Linked DNA regions of Homo sapiens: all the other regions are linked to region 2. Evidence: promoter capture Hi-C in human tissues and cell types (Jung and others, 2019). All regions are on one chromosome and are shown on one strand. Each heading gives the region's core, a stretch centred on a gene start or on the middle of the fragment in contact. The rest is flanking DNA. Distances are from core to core; before and after follow the strand shown. Region 1 has its middle 80 kb from the start of SIRLNT. Region 2 holds the start of ZMAT4 (zinc finger matrin-type 4). Region 3 overlaps ZMAT4 (zinc finger matrin-type 4). Region 4 has its middle 170 kb from the start of SIRLNT.

Region 1 (6,616 bases), core at 1,536-4,035, 470 kb after region 2:
AAATCGTATGTGACAAAGTATGTCAAAATGTTACAGAAATGAAAGACATGCTATGGGATATAAATGCTGGATATAATTATATGAAAAAGCCAATACAATTATAATGTGATGCTATATAAATTGACATAAAACATGATGCCTGCTTCACAATAGGATACCACCATATGCTTATCGGAATGGCTACAATTTAAGAAAAAGTGGTAATACCAAATGCTGGAAAAGATGCAGAGAAACTAGATAATTTGTACATTGCTGATGGGAAAGCAGAACAGTACAGCCGCTCTGGAAAACAGTTTGGTAGTTTCGTATAAAAGTAAATATGCAATTACCATACAAATTAGTATTATGCTTTGAGGCATTAGTCCCAGAGAAACAAAAGCCTATGTTCACACAAAAACCTGTGCATAAATATTCATAGCAGCTTTACTCATCATAGTCCAATACTGGAAACAACCCACATGTCTTCAATGGGTGAATGGTTAAACAAACTGTAGACATCAGAACATGAAATACCACTCAGCAATCAATAGGGATGAATTATTGATACATACAACTTGGATGAGTTACTGGGAAATTATGCTGAGTTTTTAAAAGTCTCTCTTAAAAGATTATTGTGTTAGTCCATTCAAACTGCCATAACAAAATACCTTAGACTAGGTGATTTATAAATAACAGAGATTTATTTCTTATAGTTTTAGAGACTGGGAAGTCCAATATCAAGGCACCAGCTGATTTCATGTCGATTTCATGTCTGGCGGGTCCTTGTTTTCTGCTTCATAGATGGCACCTTCTTGCTGTATCCTCAGGTGGTGGAAGAGGCAAATAAGCTCCCTCAGGCCTCTTTTATAAGGAAACTAACTCCATTCATGAGGGCTCTGCCTTCATGACCCCATCACCTCCTGAAGACCCCATCTCTTAATACTGTTGCATTGGGAATTTGATTTCAACATATAAATTTGGGGAGGGGGACACAAATATTCAAACCACAGCAGTTCCATACTGTATAATCATATTTATGCAACATTCTTGAAATGACAATGATACAGAACTGGAGAATAGATTAGGGGTTGTGCAGGTTAGTGATGGGGGAGGGGATTGAGAGGGAGGTAGGCAAGGTTATAGAAGGGCAGCCTGAGGGATCTTTGTGGGGCTGGAACTGTTTCTTGAGTGTGGTGGTGGGTACGTGAATCTACATATGTGCTAAAATTGCATAGGACTATACACACACATACACACACACGCATGTAAATAAAACACGGAACATCAGAATAAAATCAGTAGATTGTAATGACCTCAATATCCTGATTCTGATATTGTACTTTAGTTTTCTAAGATGTTACCATGGGTAAAGGTAGGTAAAAGATACATGCAATCTCTCTGTATTCTTTGTTACAACTGAATGTGGAATAAAAATTATCTCCACTTGTGGAAGTTTAATTAAAAAGTGAGGCTTACGTTATTTGTTACATGAAAAAGCAGTCTACTTTTATAAAAACATGCATAGTGAAAGTTGGGAGAATGTACTCTTAGTCAGGGTTCAGTTGAACATAACAGAATCCATTCAACTATTTTCGGCACAGAGGGATTTGACACAGGAAATTAAGTGTTTGCAAAATCATTGAAAAGCTTAAGGATCAGACATTAGGCTGAGCTTCCAGTAGTGACTCCCTGAACAACACTGTAGGTCAGGCCATGAAGGAGCTGCCACAATCATCAGTCACAGCCCCAAGCTGTGCAGCCACCGCTAGCTCAAGCTGCACTTCTTCAACTAAGGTTGCACCAGCAACACAGGCGCTTTGTGCATGTCATGGGCTGAACACAACATGGGCCCTGTACTGCAGCCTTACCGATTAAACATCTATGCTGCTTGTCAGGGGGAACTGCAGATGCAGCACAAACACAAACTCCATCTCATTTCCACCGTCCAGACTTCACACTGTGCTTTGGCTTGGGGGCTGATGGATCATATGGGAAAGTTGAGGTTTGAGGGAGCCTGAGAAATGCACCCTTTACATGTCCAGCTTCTAAAGTGAAGTATAAGATGCTATGGGAATTTGAATGGAGTTTAGGGAGTCAATCTGCCACACCCACCACACATATGCACCAACATTTCTAGTGCTCTCTGATATATAATTTGTCATAATTTGTCATTTTTCTTCTTCTTTCTCTATGCCTGTTTTTTTTTTAATGTATGTCAATATTAATAAAAACAAAAACCAATTCCAGTTTGAAAAGTCAGACCAAACAAATAATCAATGACCAGTTTAGGGAGTGGAGGTGAAGCCACAGTAATTGGAACCTGATCATCTTTAAAGTATCTTTAAGGCCAGGTGCGGTGGCTCATGCCTGTAATCCCAGCACTTTGGGAGGCCAAGGCAGGATGATGGCTTGAGCCCAGGAGTTTGAGACCAGCCTGGGTAACACAGCAAGACACTGTCTCTACAAAATAATAATAATAATACTACAAAAATTTGCTGGGTATGGTGGTGTGTGTCTGTAGCCTTAGCTGCTCAGGAGGCTGAAGTAGGAGAATCACTTTAACTCAGGAGTATAGGGCTGCGGTGAGCTATGATTGCACCCACTGCATTCCAGCTTGGGCAACAGAGACAGACCTTGTCTCAAAGAAAAAAAAAAAGAGAGAGAAAGAAAGAAAATAAAAAGAAAGTAACTTTAAAGTCTGAGAGCTTATGTTTCTATGATAAATGGCCATCTCAGCCTAGAAAGCTTTAGGCTCAGGGTTCAAAATTGAAATGTCTGCAATAAGAAGTAATATAAATGAGAGAAATAGGCTGGGTAAGACAATATAGAGTGATGAAAACTGCAAACCTGTCCCGTTTGAAGTGGAAAGTCACTGTTTGGTGCCAGCTAATTATTGCCATGTAGAAATTCAGGCTCAGGTTTATCCAATCTTCTGATTTTTTTAAAAAAGGATTTTTATGAAAGATAGGATAATTTTAAATGTTGGTTTCAACACATTTAAATCTTGGCTTCTACTGATTGCAGCAGAAACAGCAGCTCCTTGGTGGCCTATTCTACAGCGTTGTTAGGGGAATCATTACTACACTACTGAAAGTTCAATTAAAATATTGTTGCTAACATTCTGACATCCAAACAGAACACCTCCTCAAGCTGGATTTTTCTAGGAAGCCACCAAGTATGCAAGCTCTGTGTTAAGCCCTTGCTACAGCTGAAGCTCTGTCTTTGAATTTCCAGTAGATACTTTTCTGAACAACAGTGATTCCAGGGAAGGATATCCAGTCAAGCCGATGGATGTAGCTACCATGATATGAACTTGGGGGATTTGGTGACTTCTCCCTAAGCACGCCTTGGAGCCAAGGTGGAGATGAGTTCAGAGGCTATTTGGAAGGACTTGCTTTGTCTCTGTCTCCTCCATGAACATCACATCAACTGACAAAGCACAGAGCATGAGGGGACTTTCATGCTTGAGACATCATTTAGCACCAAAGTAGCCCTCACGACTCCACCTTTCAATATATTCCTAAGAGGAAACAAAAAAGATAAAAATGGGCTGCAAGGAACGTTGGAATTGAATACATACAATAACTGTCATGACTTTTCTAACACTACCGAGAGCTAACATTTCTGCAATGTTTCCTGAGTGTGAAGAATTTTCCTAAGCACCTTGCATATATTAACTTGTTCAGTCCTCACAATAGCCTGGGAGGTAGATGAGTGATTATTTTTTCCATACTGAAGTTGAGGAAACAAAGGCACAGAGAGGTCAGATGATACACTGGATTCAGTCTATGCATCACTGTAGATCCAGGGCCCGTCTGGCCAGAGCCAGTCTAGCGATGTCCTTCATCATCCTCAGCATCATGGATCAGGGCTCCTGATGCTGTTGTTTCTGCTCCTATAGGTCAATGGCTCAGCCCTGCTGTTGCTTATAAACACAACCTGACAGTGTCAGCGAGGCACAGTGGCTCATGCCTGTAATCCCAGCACTTTGAGAGGCTGAGGCTAGAGGATCGTCTGAACCCAGGAGTTCAAGACTAGCCTGAGAAGCATGGCGAAGCCCCACCTCTACAAAAATAATAAAAGTTAGCCGGGCATGATGATGCACGCTTGCAGTCCCAGCTACTCGGGAAGCTGAGGTGGGAGGATCACCAGAGGCTGGGGAGGCTGCAGTGAGCTGTGATTGCACCACTGCACTTGAGCCTGGGCGACAGAGTGAGACCTTGTCTAAAAAAAAAAAAAAAAAAAACAAAAAAAACAAAAGCAAAAAAAACAAAAACCAGCCTACCAGGCTTACGGTATCCACCTTCCACATGAGCCACCTGTCTCTCAGCCCCTGCCTGGGGCTCCCTGTGGTCCGCAATGGCACTCACTCATTTCCCATGCATGGAAACACTAGAAGTTTAGGGAAATTAACTCACAGTAATGGTAAACTTTGATCAATGAAAAATATGAATCGGCAGTTGAACTCCTATTTCCTAAACTTAGGAAGTAGTTTCACGTCTTTGAAGATATTGAGAAATCAGCTTGTCGTGCAGCTGTGATTAGCCCAGTTCTGTACTTTCTTACAATTGTTCTCCCCTTTTTCTGCCTCACTTCCCCTTTCCTTTACTCATTTTCACTGGGATTGCACTCGCTAGTGAGGTGAGCACATAATCTCTGCCTTATGCTCTGTGTTCTAAGGAACTTGGATAACTAGATAACTCATCCAAGGTTGTGTAGCTAGTAAGTACCAGTGCCAGAAGAGTCCAGAAATCTATTCCCAGAGTCCGTGTGTTTTAATCACTCAATATACTACCTCTAAAGGAAGAAATAAAACCTTGGGTTACAAAATTAATGTCATCTTTAAAAATAACCACCCCCTATCTAGCAAGTGTACTGCTGGCATTTTCTGCCTTTCCTCACACTTAAATCTAATCATACTTCACTCCAGGCTGGGTGCTGGAAGTTTCCTATATAGACTACTAATTTTGTTTATTCTATATCTCCCAACTACTGGATGTTGGCTATTAGAGGGCAAAATCTACCTGACTGTACTGTGAGAAATTGCATGAAACATGTAATGTAAAAGCTACTAAATGATAGCCAAAGAGCTGTTTCATATAGTTTTGTTTCTGTTGTCAAATAATCTCAATTTCTCTCCAACAAATGCTTATTCTGTTCTTATTATGAAGCACACAGGAGGTCAGATAGCAAGAGAAGAAGCCATGTAAAATATGGTCCTTATGCTCATAGAGACCTGCTTCTACTGGGGGAGACAGAGAAGTCAATAAATAATTTTAATATTATGATCAAGTGCTATAGCTGCATTTTCCTTAATGAAATCTTGCTTTTAAAGAGAACTTGGTTTACTTATTCCATTGTAAACTTTTAAGCAGGCTGGGCGCAGTGGCTCACGCCTGTAATCCCAGCACGTCGGGAGGCCGAAGCAGGTGGATTGCTTGAGGTCAGGAGTTCAAGACCAGCCTGGCCAACATGGTAAAACCCTGTCTCTACTAAAAACACAAAAATCAGCTGGGCATGGTGGTGCATGCCTGTAATCCCAGATACTCAGGAGGCCAAGGCACGAGAATCACTTGAACCTGGGAGGCAAATGTTGTAGTGAGCCAAGATAGTGCCACTGCACTCCAGCCTGGGCAACAAAGTAAGATTTTTTCTCAAAAAAAAAAAAAAAAAAAAGAAAGAAAGAAAGAGAGAAAGATAACCTTTAAACCAATAAGTAATGAAGGTCCTAAAGTATTTTTGTTTGTATAAATTTAAGGGTACACGGGCAGTTTTGTTACATAGATATGACGCACAATGGTGAAGTCTGGGTTTTAATGTAACCATCACCGAAGTAATGTACATTGTACTTATTAAGTCATTTCTCACCCCTCACCCATCTCCCACCCTCTAGAGTCTCCAGTATCTATCATTCCACACTCTATGTCCATGTGTATACATTAATCAGCACCCACTTATAAGTGAGATCATGTAATATTTGTCTTTCTGTTTCTGAGTTGTTTCACTTGAGATAATTGCCTCCAGTTCCATTCATGTTGCTGCAAAGTACATAATTTCACTCTTCCTTATGGCTGAATAGTGTTCCAGTGTGTATAGGTACCATATTTTCTTTATCCAATCACCCACTGATGGATGTTTCAGTTAATTCCATATATTTGCTATTGTGAATAGTGCTATGATAAATATACACAGGCAGATATCTTTTTGATACAAATGTTTTATTTTCCTTTGGCTACATACCAGTAGTGAGGTTGCTGGATGAAATGCTAGTTCTATCTGCAGTTTTGTTACAAAATCTCCATATTGTTTTCCAAAGGAGTTGTATTCATTTATATTCCTACAACAGTGCATAAGCATTTCTCTTTCTATGGGCCCTAATATGTTTTTAAAGAAATGAGATCCCAGATCTGTGCAGGACAGAAAAATGTGGGATGCTCAGTGAGGACCAGCAGAACCACAGCATATGCAACCTCATTCAAAAGTAAGGTCATATACTGCTACCAATCCAATAATAAGTGCCGACATTTATCGAGGTCGCTCCATGTCAGGCTTTGGAAAGTATTTTAACTATTTTAACACATTAAAGTCTCGCAAGGGTAGTATAAGGTGGGCACTATTAATGTGGTCCTCATCTTAT
Region 2 (5,805 bases), core at 3,122-5,621:
TCTTCCTCTTTCTCTTTTTCAGATTATTTACAACTCTGGCTCACTAATAAATGTGATTGTGATTTAAAGAAACAAAATCACCTGCTTTATTCATCAGGGTATGTTAAATAATAAAATATCCTTACTGTTTTCAAACCTCATGAAGCCTGTATATTCTAATACCAACTTTCTAAAGACTCATTAATAATTAATGAAATCATTAAGAATGGTTCATGTTGACTGACACCCTCCTGGCAGCCACAGTCTCCTCTTACGCTTTGTCAAAATGTCACTGGCTCCACAGGTTTGATTTTCATGGTGGGAGTGGGGGTGTGGGTGGAGGGGGAGGGAGTTTGATTTCACAACAGCTATCAGCTAGAACAGAAAGCTATGAAAATGTTCTTCCAAGTTTCTCTACTTAGGAGACTGTGCTGGGAGAAGTTTTCTGAACAACCTTTCATTCTTCCAATGCTAGGTTCAAGAAATCCTGCTAATATTATGTTTTCATTGAAATGGTATTGTAGGGCTGAAGTCAATAAGCAAAGATGTAGTGTTGAAAGTCACCCCCTTTGTTTTCCTCTTGTTTTCACACATTTTCCTCTTTCTTGGCATTGCCTAGATTTATTCTCCTCTTCTCCCTTTTAGAAACAGAATTTGGCATAAATAAATGATAACTGAGAAAATGGCATACACGGACAAGTAAATGCAAGATTTCTCCAGCCTCCCACGGTAGGTCATGGTCATTTGTTGTAGCAAGTGGTTACCCACAAGAATGATGGAGGTTCCGGCGGCTGCTGTCTAATTTGTGTTTTAATAAAGAAACCCACATTCTTTCCCTAATTACTCAAAATGGAACAGGAACCCCCAAAAGTCTTTCCCACCATTAATGTCCTGAAACTGTTAAATCAAAATGGACTGCTTTGCCGAGTATGGCCCACAACATGGAATTTGGTACATTTCATACCCCAGTGAATTTAAATTGTATGGAGCTGATATTTAATACAAATGCAAGTACCAGTGGAATCTGCATATTTAATATTCATTCTCTAACTCTCAGAATTAAGCAGTTGATCTATGGGACACAAAGGGAGAATCCTTCTCTCAAAGAGGATATTTTATGACCAGGCAGTTTAAAAGACACTGACATAAACAACTGTTTGAGGCTTGCTCTCTTTCTTTCTCTCTCTCTCATCTTCAAAAGGCAAAAAGTACATGTAAGGACATGCTGTTTTAGACAAAGCATTTTAGAAAATCACTTGAAATGTTTTCCCTTTCCTTCAGGGACAACTAAACCTTTGATAGATACTCAAGAGAGTTCTTATAATTTAGTTTATTTCTCTTATTTTCTTAAGGGGGGTGGAAAAAGAGATAGTATGAAGGCACAAAGCTGAAGCCTACTTTCACTCGAAAGTAAAAATCATACTGCTTAAATAATAAAAGTGTTATTTATGGTTTTTACACCATGACTGAACACACCAGATTTTCTAGGACAGTGTCAATTTCAAATGTATAGCTAAGTTTAGTTTCATTATTGTGCCTTTGTGTGATTTCACCTAGACAAAGGAATGAAATAGAAAACAAATATTTTGCTACATCCCTTGCCCTAGTTTTGAATTCCTAATATACGGTCACTGTCTCCTACTCATGCTGATATTTGGAAAGCCATTATGGAAAGGACTTCATTTTTTGAGGTCATGCCTCACAAGTAAAATGTGCATCCCACATCCTTTCATTTCCTTCAAATGCTTGAGGGAGGAGGAAGGTACTGGGTGAAGACCTGCCTCATTTTCCAGAGAGAACACAGAGAGCTTCGAGTGACTCTGGAGCTGCCGCATTTCACAGGCATTTCACAGTGGTTAGTCCTGAATTTTTAGCTCTTGGACTCCAGAGTGGGCCCCCTCCACACTCTGCTCTGCTGGAAGAGTAGTTGCAGTGGAATGAGGGTCGCATGAGGCTTAGGGCTGTGCACCCTGGATGCTTTGAATTGGGTTTTAGTAGTCAGCCCACTTATTGAGTGCTAGGTGCTATCTGTGGAGTGATAAAAATATGCATGATACCATCTCTGTCTTTACAGGGCTTGAAATGTATTTAGGGAAGCCAGGCATGTATGCATGAAATAGAAAGTCACCATACAAGGCAGTGGGGCACCTGCCATTTGCTGCAGAGGACGCAGCTGAAGATAAGGACTACAGCCATTCAAGGCCCCAGGGGAGGCCAGGGCAGGACTGGGACCAGAGCCTCACCAAAGACATGGAGATCCTAGGATAAGAAGGCTGAAGGGTTAGTTTCTGGATCATCTGAAATTTGATATTTTAAAAGCTTTCTTTAAAAGACGCTTTTATAATTCTCTCTTAAAAAATTCAGCCCATTTTGTCCTTTGCCATTTTTGAATTGGGTTATAGGTCTTGTACTTATTGATTTATAAAAGCTCTTTCATTTTAGAAACATTAATAATAAATATTTTACCTAGTTAAGAAAATTTAGCTGCCAAGTGATGTCTTTTCCATATGGTGACAAATACATTAAGGAGAGGGGAAGGTCAAAATTTGTGCTTTATGATTTCTTCTTAATTTTTAAAAATTTTTAATTTTATGGGAACATAGTGGGTGTATATATTTATGGGGTACACGAGATATTTTGATACAGGCATGCAATGTGTAATAATCACATTAGGGTAAATGGGGTATCTGGCACCTCAAGCATTTAGCATTTCCTTTTGTTACAAACAATCCAATTGTACTCTTTCAGTTATTTTAAAATGTACAATATGTTTTGCTGACTGTAATAACCCTGTTGTGCTGTCAAATACCAGATCCTATTCATTCTATCTAACTCTATTTTTGTACCTAGTAACCATTCCACCCCCGCCCCTTCCTAGCCTCTGGTAACCATCATTCTATTCTCTCTGTCCATGAGTTCAATTGTTTTAATTTTTAGCTCTCACAAATGAATGAAAACATGTGAAGTTTGTCTTTCCATGCCTGTTTTATTTCATTTAACAGAATGTCCTCCAGTTCCATCCATGGTGTTGTAAATGACAGGATCTCATTCCTTTTTATGGCTGAATAGTACTCCACTACGCATATGTACCACATTTTCTTCATCTAATTTATCTGTTGATGGACACTTACATTGCTTCCAGATCTTGTCTATTGTGAACAGAGCTGCAATAAACATGGCAGTGCAGGAATCTCTTCAAGATACTGATTTCTTTTTTGGGGGTATATACCTAGCAGTGGGATTGCTGGATCAGATGGTAGCTCTATATTTAGTTTTCTGACAAACCCCAATACTGTTCTCCATAGTGGCTGCATTAATTCACATTCTCACCAGCAATGTAGGAGGGTTCATTCTCTTTTCTTCACATCCTTGCCAGCATTTGTTATTGCCTGTCTTTTGGATAAAAGCCATTTTAACTAGGGTGAGACTTTATGATTTCTTGGTGAACAAGGAAAAGTGTTTAAGCTGTCCCCACCCTTTGATGGGTATGTTCTCTCTTCACGTGCGTAGGTTGTTGATGAAAGTCTAAGCGATTAATTTAAGCCATGTCAGAATAAACCAAAGTGAGGGTCCCAGCAGAATCATTCACTCTAGAATGCTCGGCTTTCTGGACCTCCCAGTGAGAACAGTGAGAAACTCCAGAGTTTTATGGATTTTAAGAATAGCTCTTCTGAGACTCTTTGGACAGGGTGCAAAGGAAAATTGTCTCCTCAGGTTGGGGGATGAGGGGGACTGTGAGATAAAGTACTGATAGATAAACTCCAGGTATGCACCTACTATGCTCCCCAAGCAATCTGCCATGTCCTTCACATGTCCTCCAGGGTGGCCCTGTGAAAAGCATTACTCCATCCCTTCAGCCCTCAACCTTGCTCGGCTTTCTAGAGTCTGTCTCATGCCGGCAGACACCCCATAGTTATTATTCTCTCTGCCCTCAGCAACATTTACCAGTTAGGGGGAAAATAAAGCCAGAAAATTGTTGCTATGGGCTCTGTTTTGTGGAAGTTAAAATGCTAGAGCAAGAATCTGATTGCTTGATAGCTCCATCTCTCTCTCTCTCTCCCTCCTACCCTCCTACCCCCCCACAGTTTCTCCTTCTTTTCCTCTCCCCTCCACCTCCTTCCCCCACCCCGCTCCCCCACATTTTCCTACTCCTCTCCCCTCTCTCCACTGGCCTCCCGGTCCTGCCCCCACATTGGGCTGGAGGAGAGCCTTACAGGTTGTCAATGAAACATGGAATTATTTCCTTTGATGGCTTAGATAATAGTAGGAGCCAAAGCAATGAGTGAGGTCGGCTGAAACCAATGCAGTCCTGCCCGGGACTGGAGAGCCAATCGCAAGAGCAGAGGGCGGGGCGTCGGAGCCAGCAGATAATTGCTAAGTGCATCGCTAGCACAGTTGGTCCGAGCTGCCGAAAGGTCTGGTCGCAGAGACAGGAACGTGTAATCCTCAGCGTGCTCCAGCCCACAGCTTCGCTCTACTGCTCGGCAGGGCAGCTGGCCTCTGGGCACCGGCGGCCCCTCTGCCTCGCGGAAAAGGTACCTCTGCCTGCGTCCCGGGGGTGCAGCGCCTGCGTCTCCATTGCCAGTGGCTTTGCAGTTTAGCCTAGGTGGAGGGATTGCAGAAAGAAAAGTTTCTGGGAGGGAATGTGATAAAGGTGGGAAATCACTGTCTTTTGTTGGGAGGAAAACAAGCGGACAATTTGGGAAACTTCTGCGCTGGCAAGAAATGGGCTTGTTTACTACTCCTAATTAGCTGCGCTCAGGTCTGTCTAAATAGGTCTGGTCTCAGGCTAGGGTGTCTGCAGGGCTGGGGTGGAGATTCGGGTGTGCTGGGTGAAAGAAGTTGGATCCCAGGGTGTGCTGTTTCCTGGTGCACCCATCATGGATAGGCTGGTTCCGAGAGAAACGTGATTGGTTGTTTGTGTTTTCCGCTATAGGGTCTGTCCCCTTCGTATTACCTTGATCTGCCTTCCCCAAACTATTGTGACCTTCAACTGGAGTCCTTCCTCAAACTTCTGCCTCCTTCCTGCCTGTCTCAGTTCATTTTATTTGGTGGAAGGAGACATTCCCCGGGGTGGGTGGGTGAGGATGGTCTATTCTGTTTGACCTGGTGGGCACCTACGTGACAACTTGGTGACACGCCAGCAAAACAGTTCTCAGAGGAGAGGAAATCACATAATTAATTAGCTCCCGAAAACTCTGGAAGACTTTCCAGGCTTGGGGTATCCTGAAAAAAAAAAAAAAAGAAAAAGCCAAAAAACGGGATAGAGAGTTCGGTTTGGTACCATGTGAAGCTTACACCCTTGTCCCCAGAAGGGGTGCCTGGCCCGGAGCATCCCCGCAGCTCTGGGAGGTGGAGGCTGGTGGAGGGGGTGGCTCCGTGTAGGTGCGCAGGTTGTTTTGGTGCACAGGTGCATTTGTGGCAGAGGTGGTGCTGAAGTCACCATCCACACTGCTTCTGCTAACTGCTCTTGAAGTAAAACAGCTCACCCCGGCAGGCAGCTGGTTCAGCCCAGAAGCACCCTTGAGCATTCTAAATCGCGAGACCTCAGGGGCCTCTCTTGCTCTGAGACCCTTGGGAAACTCCTTTCTCCCCCTGCCTCCTCCGCCTTTGGCTTCTGCTAAAGGGAGATATTAGGTAGGTGAGTCACTAGGAAGCAGGGACCCATGGGGAAGCAGGCGATGTGCTTGGTCTCGAACTTTCTTCCTCTTCTGCGAAGGCAGCTTCTGCTTGTGTGCCCACCGCACTTCACCAGTTGCGCTGCCTACCTGCGGGATACTCTGAAGCTGATAGTCTGGGGGTGATCTTCCAAGTCCTAGGGGCATT
Region 3 (6,255 bases), core at 1,068-3,567, 330 kb after region 2:
ATGACAAGTAAATAAATTGATTTCTTGTCCTTAAAATGCTCAGGTAATTTTTAAAACGCCTAAACCCTAAAGCGCTATGATTCCAGAAAAGTCACCCAAATTCTTGAACTCATTGAAATCACAGGAGAGAGTGCTGGGGGCCTTCACAGTGGTGAAGGTCCTGGAGTCCTATTAGCAGCTGTCAGGAGTGTGGTGTTGGGTGACTGGGCACCAACATGGACCTGCAGTTCTTCCAAGCCCAAGTTATCACTGGCAATGTAGGTTCTCTGAGGAGCTCTTATTAAAAAAAAAAAAAAAGGTAGCCTGGAACCTGAGTTGGGAAAGAAGGCAGGCTTAGGATCTAGGAGGGATGTCAGATATGAAAAAGATGGTGGCAATGACCAGGCGTGGTGGTTCACACATGTAATCCCAGCACTTTGGTAGGCCGAGGAGTGTAGATCACCTGAAGACAGGAGTTCGAGACCAGCCTGGCCAACATGGTGAAATCCCATCTGTACTAAAAATACAAAAAATTAGCTGGGCGTGGTGGCGGATGTCTGTAACCCCAGTTACTCATGAGCCTTAGGCAGGAGAATTGCTTGAATCTGGGAGGCGGGGGTTGCAGTGATCGCCCCACTGCACTCCAGCCAGGGCAACAAGAACAAAACTTCATCTCAAAAAAAAAAAAAAAAAAAAAAAGATGGTGGCACCAAACCAGCACTTGCTGTTGTGTTGAATGAGTTGATATAGAAGCTTTGACTTCTAAGGACTTACCCAAGGAAATTACTTTTGTCACTTAGAAACTCATATTTTCTGGGCATTCTCTGAAAAGCCCTCATCACTTATATATGAGGATTTGAATTTTGTAACACCTGATAGAATATTTCATTGCTATTAAGTAAGGGAAGAAACCAGGGTTTAAAACTTATGTTAAGAGCAAATGACATTTGTGATCAAAGAATGATGATTAGAGACATCAATCTGTCCAATCTCTGTTGAAAATTACTTTGATTATTCTTTCTCCCTAATAACACTTGCTCTAGTGTCATTTAAGGAATTGGTAGCAAATGAGCAGCTCCAATAAGACAGTGTACAGATAAAAGAGTAAGACTGGATGTCAGATTTTGTTAACAAGAACTGCTTTAATGTTCTAAAGCAGATTTTTTACTATCCGTGCAGGTAATTTTTCTTTTAACCTTGAAGTAAGATTATTCCTGTGTCTTCTGATTAAAATATCTCATCCTGTGCCCACAATGGATGCTCAACAATTAATGGTCTTTCTTTTCTCAACTGTTTAATTAGGGTTGAAGCCAACACATAATTTGAATGACTAAAATCAATGAATATCATGAATATCATTCCAAAATGTACTCTACTAATGTGAGTAATTTCTCCATTCCCATGAGACAGTGGAACAGGCTGCAACAGTGGCCCTGCCTTATGATGTGATTTCAATAAATTGCTTCCTTTTCTCAAAGTGATATGTTCTCCCCTATACACACCTGCTAGGTAACTGTCAACATTTTTTCCACAGAGGAAAACTTTACTTTTGTCTACTTTGCAGGCAGGGATAATTGCACAGTGAGATGTGCAAATGACAAATACTAAAATCTTATCTGTGAGTTTAGAGGGGGGTGGCCCGAGACTGAAATATAGAGTGTCATTGACAGGGGGAGAGAAGGCAGAAAGAGGAAGCTGGCATCAGCAATGAAAATCTTGGCCTTTTAGGGTCCAGGGTTGGGCAATCCTGTAGAAATAACACCTGCTTCAATATACTCTCGACTTATAAAAAGAGAAGTGATCAATACAAAACTCAGTGAGTTAAATATTGTCTCCTACATGAACACATTCCTGGACTCCCTTACCATGGTAAGTTTGTCCATGAGGATTTCTTTGCGTTCTCCAGCTTAGTGTTCATAAAGCAAATATTTCAAGTATTCTGGAACTACTTGACCTCATTCACGTATTTTCTCTTTTTGGAGGACAGACCAAAAATAAGTAATTTCATGATCATATTTATTCAGAAAAGGCTGGTGGAGATTAGATGTGTGGTCTCTGACAATCCGAGGGAGCCTGGGATGAGAAAGTGAAAGGACATCCCTTTCCTCAGCCACTGGGTGGAAACTCATTGGTTTCCCCTGTAGGAGACCTGCCATGGGGAGCAAGGGTAGGGGCTGGAGGAAACTAAGAGGCCCTCCTGCTCCCTCACAGCCTACCAGCATCACCCCAGTTTCTGGACTAGTTTTCAGAGTCAAGGAACAGCTGCCTTTAAGGACAGAGCCACTGTGGTCAAATAAATCATATCCTTTACCCTCTGTCACAAAATTCATGGGTCTAAAAAGAGAGTTGGAGGTGGAGAGAGATACCTTATCAAGTCAAGCAGAATCATGCATGTGGAATAATTTCATAAGATATCATTGTAATTCAAATTTTAAAGTCTAGTTCAGAACATTTCATGTTCTTATCTGTTTTTTCATTTCAAAATTGTTTCTTCTACTAGTAGTGCTCAAAGAAGATGAATTGCATCTGTTACCTTTGGATTTAGACAGCAGATATATTTATGGTTTCCTAGCATGTTCCACTTTTGCTAGAGACCTAATACTTGAGAGAGATTCAGTTCTGCTCTGTGTATTTACTCTGTGTCTAGCTAAGTGTCAGATACCGCAAGGATATAGCACCAGCAAACAGTGTGGTTCCTGCCTGCAATAAACCTATTGTTTAACTGAGGAGACCAAATTAATAGACGAAAATAATCAAAGAACATTTAAATGCTAATATATTTGAGACTGACTTTATATACCATTTAAGGACTTGAGAGAAGGGAGAGATGATGCAGACATGAGTAATGAGAGAAAGCTGCCTGGATGAGATGAACCTGGGCTGGGGAATGAGAATGATTTCAGTTTGAGGTGGAATGAGTTTGAGGGGCCTAAGAACATTCAGATGAAGATGCCGGTGGGCATTGAGGTTTATGGCTCTGGAGTTCAAGAAACAAATGAGGGCTGAAGATTCAGATTCAGGATGCTTAGGGTCACAGGAGCTGGTTGAAGTGTCTGATATGGGAGTAGATGAGTTCACTCAAGGTGAGTGTGTACAGTAAGAGGAACTTGAGGAATAAACACACATATGTTTACACTGCACACATGTGTGCACACACACGTCGTGACAAAGGAAGAGAAGTCAACACTTTTTCTCATAATGATATATTTTGTATTTCTTTTCTAAGTAGGAGAACAGGACAGATTAGTGCTTCAGAAGTCAAGGGAGAAAAAAACATTTCAAGAAGGAAGGTGTAGAACAAACTGATTAAATGCCAGAAAGAGTCAAGTAGAAAGAGGATTGACAGATGGCTTGTCAATCAGGAGGGGTTGTCATTGTTTGCCTGGGGAGTTTTGTAGAAGTTTCTAGACCATGATTACCACAATGGCTGGGGTAGAAAGAAAGAGGGGGAGTTCCTTACCAGTGTGCCCCTGTATGAGGGAGAGTGCCCCAGCAGCCCCATTGATGACAGCACCCAGGAGGATGGAGGGTGATGTGTAGCTGTTTGCTATGCATAGGGGAAGGGGTTTGCATAAGAACTCAAATTATAACAGCAGAACCCTCTTTTAAAATAAGTAGCAGGTGGAATTTCATAAAAGTAGTCTTTTTTGGAATTAGACATGTTGGGTCAAAAGTGCTACCCAGTGAACTTCCTCCCTGGCCCCTGCTGATCCCTAGAACTCTGAGGAACCACTGATAATCATTGATGATGGGATTTCTGAGAGGATGGCCTAAGGTGCCTACCTGTCTTCAGCTTAGGAGATGGGAGAAATTCTGACAGAATCTGGCCGGGAGTGAGGGAGTTAAGTTTTAGACACAGTGCTTTTGATGGAATGGTGTTTTGCCTGAGCAGGAATGTCCTACAGGTTCTTGGAAAGCAGACCTGATATGAAGACTTGAACCAGACTTTGAATGGACATTTTGAAGTCAGCTAAATGGGTACAAGTTAAAGCCAGGGAGAAGACGTATCGTCCAAAGTAGAGAAAGGTGCAGAGAGAAAGAACCGTGCCCTAGGCATTGCACCTGACTGACTTCAGTCAGAGAAGCAAGACCACTAGGAGGTGTGTGTCTGTCTCTCCCTCTCTTTTTCTCTCTTACACACAGACATACACTCACACATGGATTTATAACAGGGATTAGACCTTACCAAGGGTGTCCAATCTTTTAGCTTCCCTGGGCCATATTGGAAGAAGAAAAATTGTCTTGGGCCATACATAAAATACACGAACACTAATGATAGCTGATGAGCTAAAAAAATTGCAAAAAACTCTCATAATGTTTTGAGAAAGTTTACGAATTTGTATTGGGCCACATTCAAAGCCATCCTGAGCCGCATGCAGCCTGTGGGCTGGGGGTTGAACAAGCTTGCACTGAGCCTTTGTGAGAGCTGGTTCAGCACCCTCTCTAATGCTGGTGCTTGGAGCCTGGAAGACAGACTGTTGGAGGAGAGATTTTGGGTGGGGAAGAGAAAGTGCTACTCAGACCCTGAGCACCAGCTGGGACCTCTAAGGACAGACTGAAACCCGAGTTAGTTCTCTCCACCTTCAACCTCAATAAAGTGGTAGTTCTGCAGGAGAACCTGGTGCTTACATGTGGAAGCTGTGAGCCCTGACCTTCTGAGAGTGAAAACCAGAAACATATAGCTAAGGGAATTATAAGAAACGCTGTGCAGGCTGGCCATGTTAGTACACTGTAAAACCACCAGAGTACCCTCTAAAGCTGCCAAGTAACACTACACAGCAGGATAGTTAAATGTCAAATGAAAGACCACAGCATTAAAAGTGCTGAGTTTTCTTGTCCTTCTTTGAAAAAAAAAATTAAAGATATAGTAACTTAAGATGTTTCCATTTTTGTCAGAAAAATGAGCTTATTTTATTAACAAATGACACTGAATCTCTTTGCACAGAAGTCTCTTTGCACAGTACACAGAAAAGCTTATAAATCAAAGACGATCTTTTCTTTAAACAGAACTGTATGATTTTAATGAAAATATTCTAGAATCATATGTGTAGTGCCAACATAGAAAATATGGAGAGGTAAATCTCTACTAAGTAAAAGGGTTTTTTGGGGACTAATATACAAGAAATAGGATTGCAATGCGAGACATACATAAAGACCAGGGTGGCCTCCTGCATGTCCAGAGAACAGAGGAAAAGGTTAGGGTTTAATTGGGGAAAGAGTAGATTATACAGGTTATTTTGAAAGTTCATTGGCTGGCGATGTCTTTCAGGATCTGGCAAGCTCTGATGAGTGACAGTGGGGGCATTTCTAGGTAAAACTTGTAGTCTCGAAGTCATAGCAGCTGTTTCTTTGGATTGAGTTTGTGAAATAGTGTGTCAGGCAAGTGTTTTTGCATAAGTGGCTGGCTGTCCTTGTGATCATTCATATTATCAGGCAAATCTATTAGGACAGCCCTCCCACCATGATCTTCTCTGTCTTTATTTTGCCGGAGTTTGACAAGTGACACAAGACACAAGTGACTCCATTTTGAATCTCAAAACTTTCACAGTAAATGTTTAATATATATCTAGGATGACTTGTACCCAGGAGGCTAAAGCATTGAAATATCACCTGGAGAATTCATAGCTTCATCTGCATTCTGAGATTACTTTGAGGGGAAAGATATGATTATTTGTTTTCCAAGAAAAAGCATTGATGAATAAAATGAAAAAATATATTTCTGCTGGTACTGTGGCATAGGAATTTACTACAGAGCTTTAATGGAAAATAGACTGTCTATAATTGGCGGTGTTATTATTTACATAATTTGTTCAGGACAATGAGTTAAGATAAAATGTACAATTTCCCTTGGTCAAATTTTATATATATATATATATATAAAGTTTGACAAGATTATGGAAGATAATTCAAAAGGAAATCACTTGGCACTGTGTGACTAGCTTGAGCTAGAAGTGTATTAGAGGCACAGGTATTGACAGTGGCAGGAAGCCATGGACAAACTGTCATTAGGACAGGAATTAGTGGGAGAGTGGAACAGACCTCAGGGAGCAAAAATGCACAAAAATTACACCTGACATGGAGTCTTTGCCCAGCCCCAGTATCTCCTCTGCGGTTTCTGCCTGAGGAAGATTATTGCATAAGTTTGATCCCAAAGGGGCCATAGGGATTATTTCTGGGTCATCTATTTTTTTCTATTAACATACTCAGGAAAAGCTCTAATCTAATTTCACAAACGTGTGTTTGTATTTGTGTGTACTTATGTGGTTGTGTATATCT
Region 4 (6,295 bases), core at 2,403-4,902, 390 kb after region 2:
TCTGGGTTGTAAGTTCACTTTGTAAATATGATACTTGGTTCTTCTCAAACTCGAGTTGGGGTCTAGGTGACAAAGGGCTCATATCACAGCTCAGCATCCCTCTACCTGAGTCAGGCCCCGAGAATGCTTTATGTGTCCCTAAGGTTTGAGAACTCATGACCCAAGCCCTCCCCACCCCTCCCCCACAAAAAAACCCCCAAAGAATATACTAGTCTCCAAAATGTTTGTTATCCTTAACCAATGATGGTTTAACCGGCAACCTCAGTTTATATTTCCAAAAGAAGGTGAGAGTACCCTTTCACAAATATATCAGTAGATACTTCTTCTTGCTTACCTGCACATTATATCAGACTTTCTTTTTATGAAGTACAGCAGTTTGTACACACTGTAAAAATACTGAAGATCCTAGAAATGTAACAGGTGAGCTATTCCATTCACATTGTCTTTCAACCAACGTACTACCATGGGCTCACGGAATGTAGCCATTCCATTTCGCTGAGTCCTGCAAAAACTCCCACCCATCTCCTGAGCTCCATTTGGTCCTTTTCTTATTCATAAATTTTCCTGGTCATTGCTGCCATACTGCATGCTTTGCATGTTGCACAATTTTCTCTGACCTCCAGAATCATTGCAACAGTCCAATGGTTCATTTCCATAAGCACACGAAGTATCTGTCATGCCAAAAATATCCACTTTTAATTATTTTTTCTGAGTTAACTTTTTTTAATCCTAATAAAACATCCCTTTGTGTTGGTGTATTCCACACCTTCTCCTCTGGTATTTATTGGGCCTGCTGAGTTTTATGATATTTGTGAAACACTTCAATACTAAGTTCAAATGTAACAATTCAACTAACAGAACCAACAAAGATCATGCCTGGGCTACATTGTATGAGCAAAAGACTGCATATTTTGGTGGCAACCTCATCAGACGCTCTTTTTTCTTGTGTGTATCCCTACTTATCCCTCTGCAAATTACTATTTAAAAGTCAGGAAGCAGGAAAGTTTTAGTAGCTGAGTTGTACCCAGCAAAAAATTGGCCCTGAGCTATTTGTTAGCTGTTCAAAGAGTGTGCAAAGCTGTCTCACACTGCCCTGGCTGGGGCCAGGAGCCCACCAACTGGTACTAGGAGGTACCCAGAATGCTGCCAGTGCTTGGCTACTTGAGTATCCCTGGAATTGTTCTCATGAACAGAGCTGGGCCCTGTCCTGGAACCAGTGAGAAGGTAGGAGGTTAGAACAGCAATTCCCCTCCATCAACTCCCAGCCATTCCTCCTTCCCCACATAAACACTCTTCCTGTGGGCATATGCTGAGCTCTAGCTGCCTAACCCCGCCCTCCACCACACCATATCCTGGGTCTCCTGGGCATCCTGAGAATCTCTGTTACCATTCCACCATGGAATTTGGAGGAAGGGAGGGAATTCTCCCTAACAGCCATCTGAACGAAGGCCAGCTCTTAACTTTATTCCTGCCAATTCTTTTCTTTTTGACAGAATTTAAAGAATGACACCAGCTCAGCCCATGCTTTTTCTTATCTGCCATTTGCATTTCCAAAGCTTCACCTCTGTGCAGTCATCTAAGATCTAAGACCAGATGTCTTATTTCCTCATCTATAATTTAAGAATAATAATTCCTCTTTCAAAATACAGTTGTGGAACCATTCCTGGACAAGATGGCCAAATAGGAACAGCTCCAGTCTGCAGCTCCCAGTGAGATCAATGCAGAAGGTGGGTGATTTCTGCATTTCCAACTGAGGTACCTGGCTTATCTCATTGGGACTGGTTAGACAGTGGGTGCAGCCCATGGAGAACAAGCTGAAGCAGGGTGGGGCGTTGCCTCGCCCAGGAAGCACAAAGGGTCAGGGAACTCCATCCCCTAGCCAAGGGAAGCTGTGAAGGATTGTGCCATGAAGAATGGAGCACACTGGCCCAGACACTACACTTTTCCCACAGTCTTCACAGCCTGCAGACAAGGAGCTTCCCTCTGGTGCCTACGCCACCAGGGCCCTGGGTTTCAAAACTGGGCAGCCATTTGGGCAGACACTGAGCTAGCTGCAGGAGGTTTTTTTCATACCCCAGTGGCACCTGGAACACCAGTGAGACAGAACTGTTCACTCCCCTGGAAAGGAGGCTGAAGCCAGCGAGCCAAGTGGTCTAGCTCAGCAGATCCCATCCCCACAGAGCCCAGCAAGCTAAGATCCACTGACTTGAAATTCTCACTGCTAGCACAGCAGTCTGAAATCAACCTGGGAGGCTCCAGCTTGGTTGGGGGAGGAGAGTCTGCCATCACTGAGGCTTAAGTAGGCAGTTTTCCCCTCACAGTGTAAACAAAGCCACTAGGAAGTTCAGACTAGGCAGAGCCCACCACAGCTCCACAAAGCCTCTGTAGCCAGACTGCTTCTCTAGAGTCCTCCTCTCTGGGTAGGGCATCTCTGAAAGAAAGACAGCAGCCCCAGTCAGGGGCTTATAGATAAAACTCCCATCTCCCTGGGACAGAGCACCTGGGGAAAGGGGCGGCTGTAGCTGCAGCTTCAGCAGACTTAAATGTTCCTGCTTGCTGGCTCTGAAGAGAGCAGCAGATCTCCCAGCACAGCACTGGAGCTCTGCTAAGCGACAGACTGCCTCCTTAAGTGGGTCCCTGACCCCTGTGCCTCCTGACGGGAAGACACCTCCCAGCAGGGGTCAACAGACACGTCATAGAGGAGAACTCCAGCTGACATTTGGTGGGTGCCCCTCTGGGACAAAGCTTCCAGAGGAAGGAGCAGGCAGCAATCTTTTCTGTTCTGCTGCCTCCGCTGGTGATACCTAGGCAAACAGGGTCAGGAGTGGAACCCCAGCAAACTCCAGCAGACCTGCAGCAGAGGAGCCTGACTGTTAGAAGGAAAACTAACAAACAGAAAGCAATAGCATCAACATCAACAAAAAGGACGACCATGCAAAAACTCCATCCGAAGGTCACCAACGGCAGAGACCAAAGGAAGATAAATCCACGAAGATGAGGAAAAACCAGAGCAAAAAGGCTGAAAATTCATGCCAAAAACCAGAATACCTCTTCTCCTCCAAAAGATCACAACTCCTTGCCAGCAAGAGAACAAAACTGGATGAAGAATGAGTTGAACAAATGGACAGAAATAGGCTTCATAAGGTAGGTAATAACAAATTCCTTCAAGCTAAAGGAGCATGTTCTAAGACAATGCAAGAAAGCTAAGGACCTTGATAAAAGGTTAGAGGAATTGCTAACTAGAATAAACAGTTTAGTGAAGAACATAAGTGAACTGATGGAGCTGAAAAACACAGAACGAGACCTTCATGAAACATATGCAAGTAACAACAGCCAAATCAATCAAGTGGATGAAAGGATATCAGAGATTGCAGATCAACTCAATGAAATAAAACATGAAGACAAGATTAGAGAAAAAAGAATCTAAAGGAACAAACAAAGCCTCCAAGAAATATGGGACTGTGTGAAAAGACCATACCTACATTTGATTGGTGTACCTGAAAGTGACGGGGATAAAGGAATCAAGTTGGAAAACACATTTCAAGATATTATCCAGGAGAACTTCCCCAACCTAGCAAGACAGGCCAATATTCAAATTCAGGAAATACAGAGAACACCACAAAGATACTCCTAGAGAAGAGCAACCCCAAGACACATAATCATCAGATTCACCAAGGTTGAAATGAAGGAAAAACATGTTAAGGGCAGCCAGAGAGAAAGGTTGGGTTACCCACAAAGGGAAGCTCATCAGACTAACAGCGGATCTCTCTGCAGAAAACCTACAAGCCAGGGCTGGGTGTGGTGGCTCACACCTGTAATCTCAGCACTTTGGGAGGCGGAGGCAGGCAGATCACCAGGTCAGGAGATCGAGACCATCCTGGCTAATGTGGTGAAATCCTGTCTCTACTAAAAATGTAAAAAATTAGCTGGGTGTGGTGGCGGGCGCCTGTAGTCCCAGCTACTAGGAAGGCTGAGGAAGGAGAATGGCGTGAACCTGGGAGGCAGAGTTTGCAGTGAGCCGAGATCACGCCACTGCACTCCAGCCTGGACGACAGAGCGGGACTCCACCTCAAAAAAATAAATAAATAAAAGAAGAAAGCCTACAAGCCAGAAGAAAGTGGGGACCAATATTCAACATTCTTAAAGAAAAGAATTTTCAAGCCAGAATTTCATTTCCAGCCAAACTAAGCTTCATAAGGGAAGGAGAAATAAAATCCTTCAAAGACAAGCAAATGCTAAGGGATTTTGTCACCACCAGGCCTGCCTTACAAGAGCTCCTGAAGGAAGCACTAAATATGGAAAGGAAAAAATGGTACCAGCCACTGCAAAAACAAAGCAAAATGTAAAGACCATTGACACTATGAAGAAACTGCATCAACTAATGGGCAAAATAACCAGCTAGCATCATAATGACAGGATCAAATTCACACATAACAGTATTAACCTTAAATGTAAATGGGCTAAATGCCCCCAATTAAAAGGCACAGACTGGCAAATTGGATAAAGAGTCAAGACCCATCAGTGTGCTGTATTCAGGAAATTCATCTCACATGCAAAGACACACATATTCAGGAAAGTCATCTCACATGCAAAGACACACATAGGCTCTAAATAAAGGGATGGAGGAAGATTTACCAAGCAAATGGAAAGCAAAAATAAAAAAGCAGGGGTTGTAATCCTAGTCTCTGTTAAAACAGACGTTAAACCAACAAAGATCTAACAAGACAAAGAAGGGCATTACATAATGGTAAAGGGATCAATGCAACAAGAAGAGCTAACTATCCCAAATATATATGCACCCAACACAGGAGCACCCAGATACATAAAGCAAGTTCTTATAGACCTACAAAGAGATTTAGACTCCCACACAATAATAGTGGGAGACTTTAATATCCCACTGTCAATATTGGACAGATCAATGAGACAGAAAATTAACAAGGATATCCAGTAATTGAACTCAGCTCTGGACCAAGCAGACCTAATAGACATCTACAGAACTCTCCACTCCAAATCAACAGAATATACATTCTTCTCAGCACCACATAGCACTTATTCTAAGATCGACCACATAATTGAAAGTAAAACACTCTTCATCAAATGCAAAAGAATGGAAATCATAACAAACTGTCTCTCAGACCACAGTGCAATCAAATTAGAACTCAGGATTAAGAAACTCACTCAAAACCACACAACTACATGGAAACTGAACAACCTGCTCCTGAATGACTACTGGGTAAAAAAATGAAATTAAGGCAGAAATAAATAAGTTCTTTGAAGCCAATGAGAACAAAGACACAACCAGAATCTCTGGGACACAGCTAAAGCAGTGTTTAGAGGGAAATTTATAGCACTAAATGCCCACAAGAGAAAGTGGGAAAGATCTAAAATCAACACCCTAACATCACAATTAAAAGAACTAGAGAAGCAAGAGCAAACAAATTCAAAAGCTAGCAGAAGATAAGAAATAACTAGGATCAAGCAGAACTGAAGGAGATAGAGACATGAAAAACCACTTCAAAAAATCAATGACTCCAGGAGCTGGTTTTTTGAAACTGTTAATAAAATAGATAGACCACTAGCCAGACAAACAAAGAAGAAAAGAGAGAAGAATCAAATAGACACAATAAAAAATGATAAAGGTGAGATCACCACTGATCCCACAGAAATACAAACTACCATCAGAGAATATTATAAACACCTCTATGCAAATAAACTAGAAAATCTAGAAGAAATGAATAAATTCCTGGAAACATACACCCTCCCAAGACTAAATCAGGAAGAAGTCTAATCCCTGAATAGACCAAAAACAAGTTCTGAAATTGACGCAGTAATTAATAGTCTACCAACCAAGAAAAGCCCAGGACCAGAAGGATTCACAGCTGAATTCTACCAGAGGTAAAAAGAGGAGGTGGTACCATTCCTTCTTAAACGATTCCAAAAGATAGAAAAAGAGGGACTCCTCCATAACTCATTTTATGAGGTCGGCATCATCCTGATACCAAACCTGGCAGAAACACAACAAAAAAAGAAAATTTCAGGCCAATATCCCTGATGAACATTGATATGAAAATCCTCAATGAAATACTGGCAAACTGAATCCAGCAGCACATTAAAAAGCTTATCCACCATGATCAAGTCAGCTTCATTCCTGGGATGCAAGACTGGTTCAACATACACAAATCAATAAATGTAATCCATCACATAAACAGAACCAATGGCAAAAACCACATGATTATCTCAATAGATGCAGAAAAGGCCTTTGATAGAATTCAACACCCCTTCATGCGAAAAACAC

The links. Contacts are between HindIII fragments. The study calls those that stand out against the background at their distance.
Region 1: a fragment that was not itself captured here is called in contact with the fragment with the promoter of ZMAT4 in region 2 in 2 of the 25 tissues and cell types used here (dorsolateral prefrontal cortex and heart left ventricle).
Region 3: a fragment that was not itself captured here is called in contact with the fragment with the promoter of ZMAT4 in region 2 in 2 of the 25 tissues and cell types used here (dorsolateral prefrontal cortex and mesenchymal stem cells).
Region 4: a contact is called between a fragment that was not itself captured here and the fragment with the promoter of ZMAT4 in region 2, in 2 of the 25 tissues and cell types used here (mesendoderm cells and thymus).

Annotation. Positions count from the first base shown.
Region 1 is chr8:40,420,528-40,427,143 of GRCh38, reverse strand. No RefSeq gene overlaps it. Among named protein-coding and RNA genes, the nearest start is that of SIRLNT, 80 kb to the right of the region's middle. The HindIII fragment of the contact is 4,372 bases long and covers 600-4,971 here.
Region 2 is chr8:40,896,392-40,902,196 of GRCh38, reverse strand. ZMAT4 (zinc finger matrin-type 4) reads left to right here and starts at 4,371. Exons shown (of 7, transcript NM_024645.3): 1 at 4,371-4,514. The HindIII fragment of the contact is 9,161 bases long and covers 1-5,805 here.
Region 3 is chr8:40,559,801-40,566,055 of GRCh38, reverse strand. The region is part of intron 6 of ZMAT4 (zinc finger matrin-type 4); the gene reads left to right. Among named protein-coding and RNA genes, the nearest start is that of SIRLNT, 220 kb to the right of the region's middle. The HindIII fragment of the contact is 4,700 bases long and covers 1-4,667 here.
Region 4 is chr8:40,508,261-40,514,555 of GRCh38, reverse strand. No RefSeq gene overlaps it. Among named protein-coding and RNA genes, the nearest start is that of SIRLNT, 170 kb to the right of the region's middle. The HindIII fragment of the contact is 3,002 bases long and covers 2,152-5,153 here.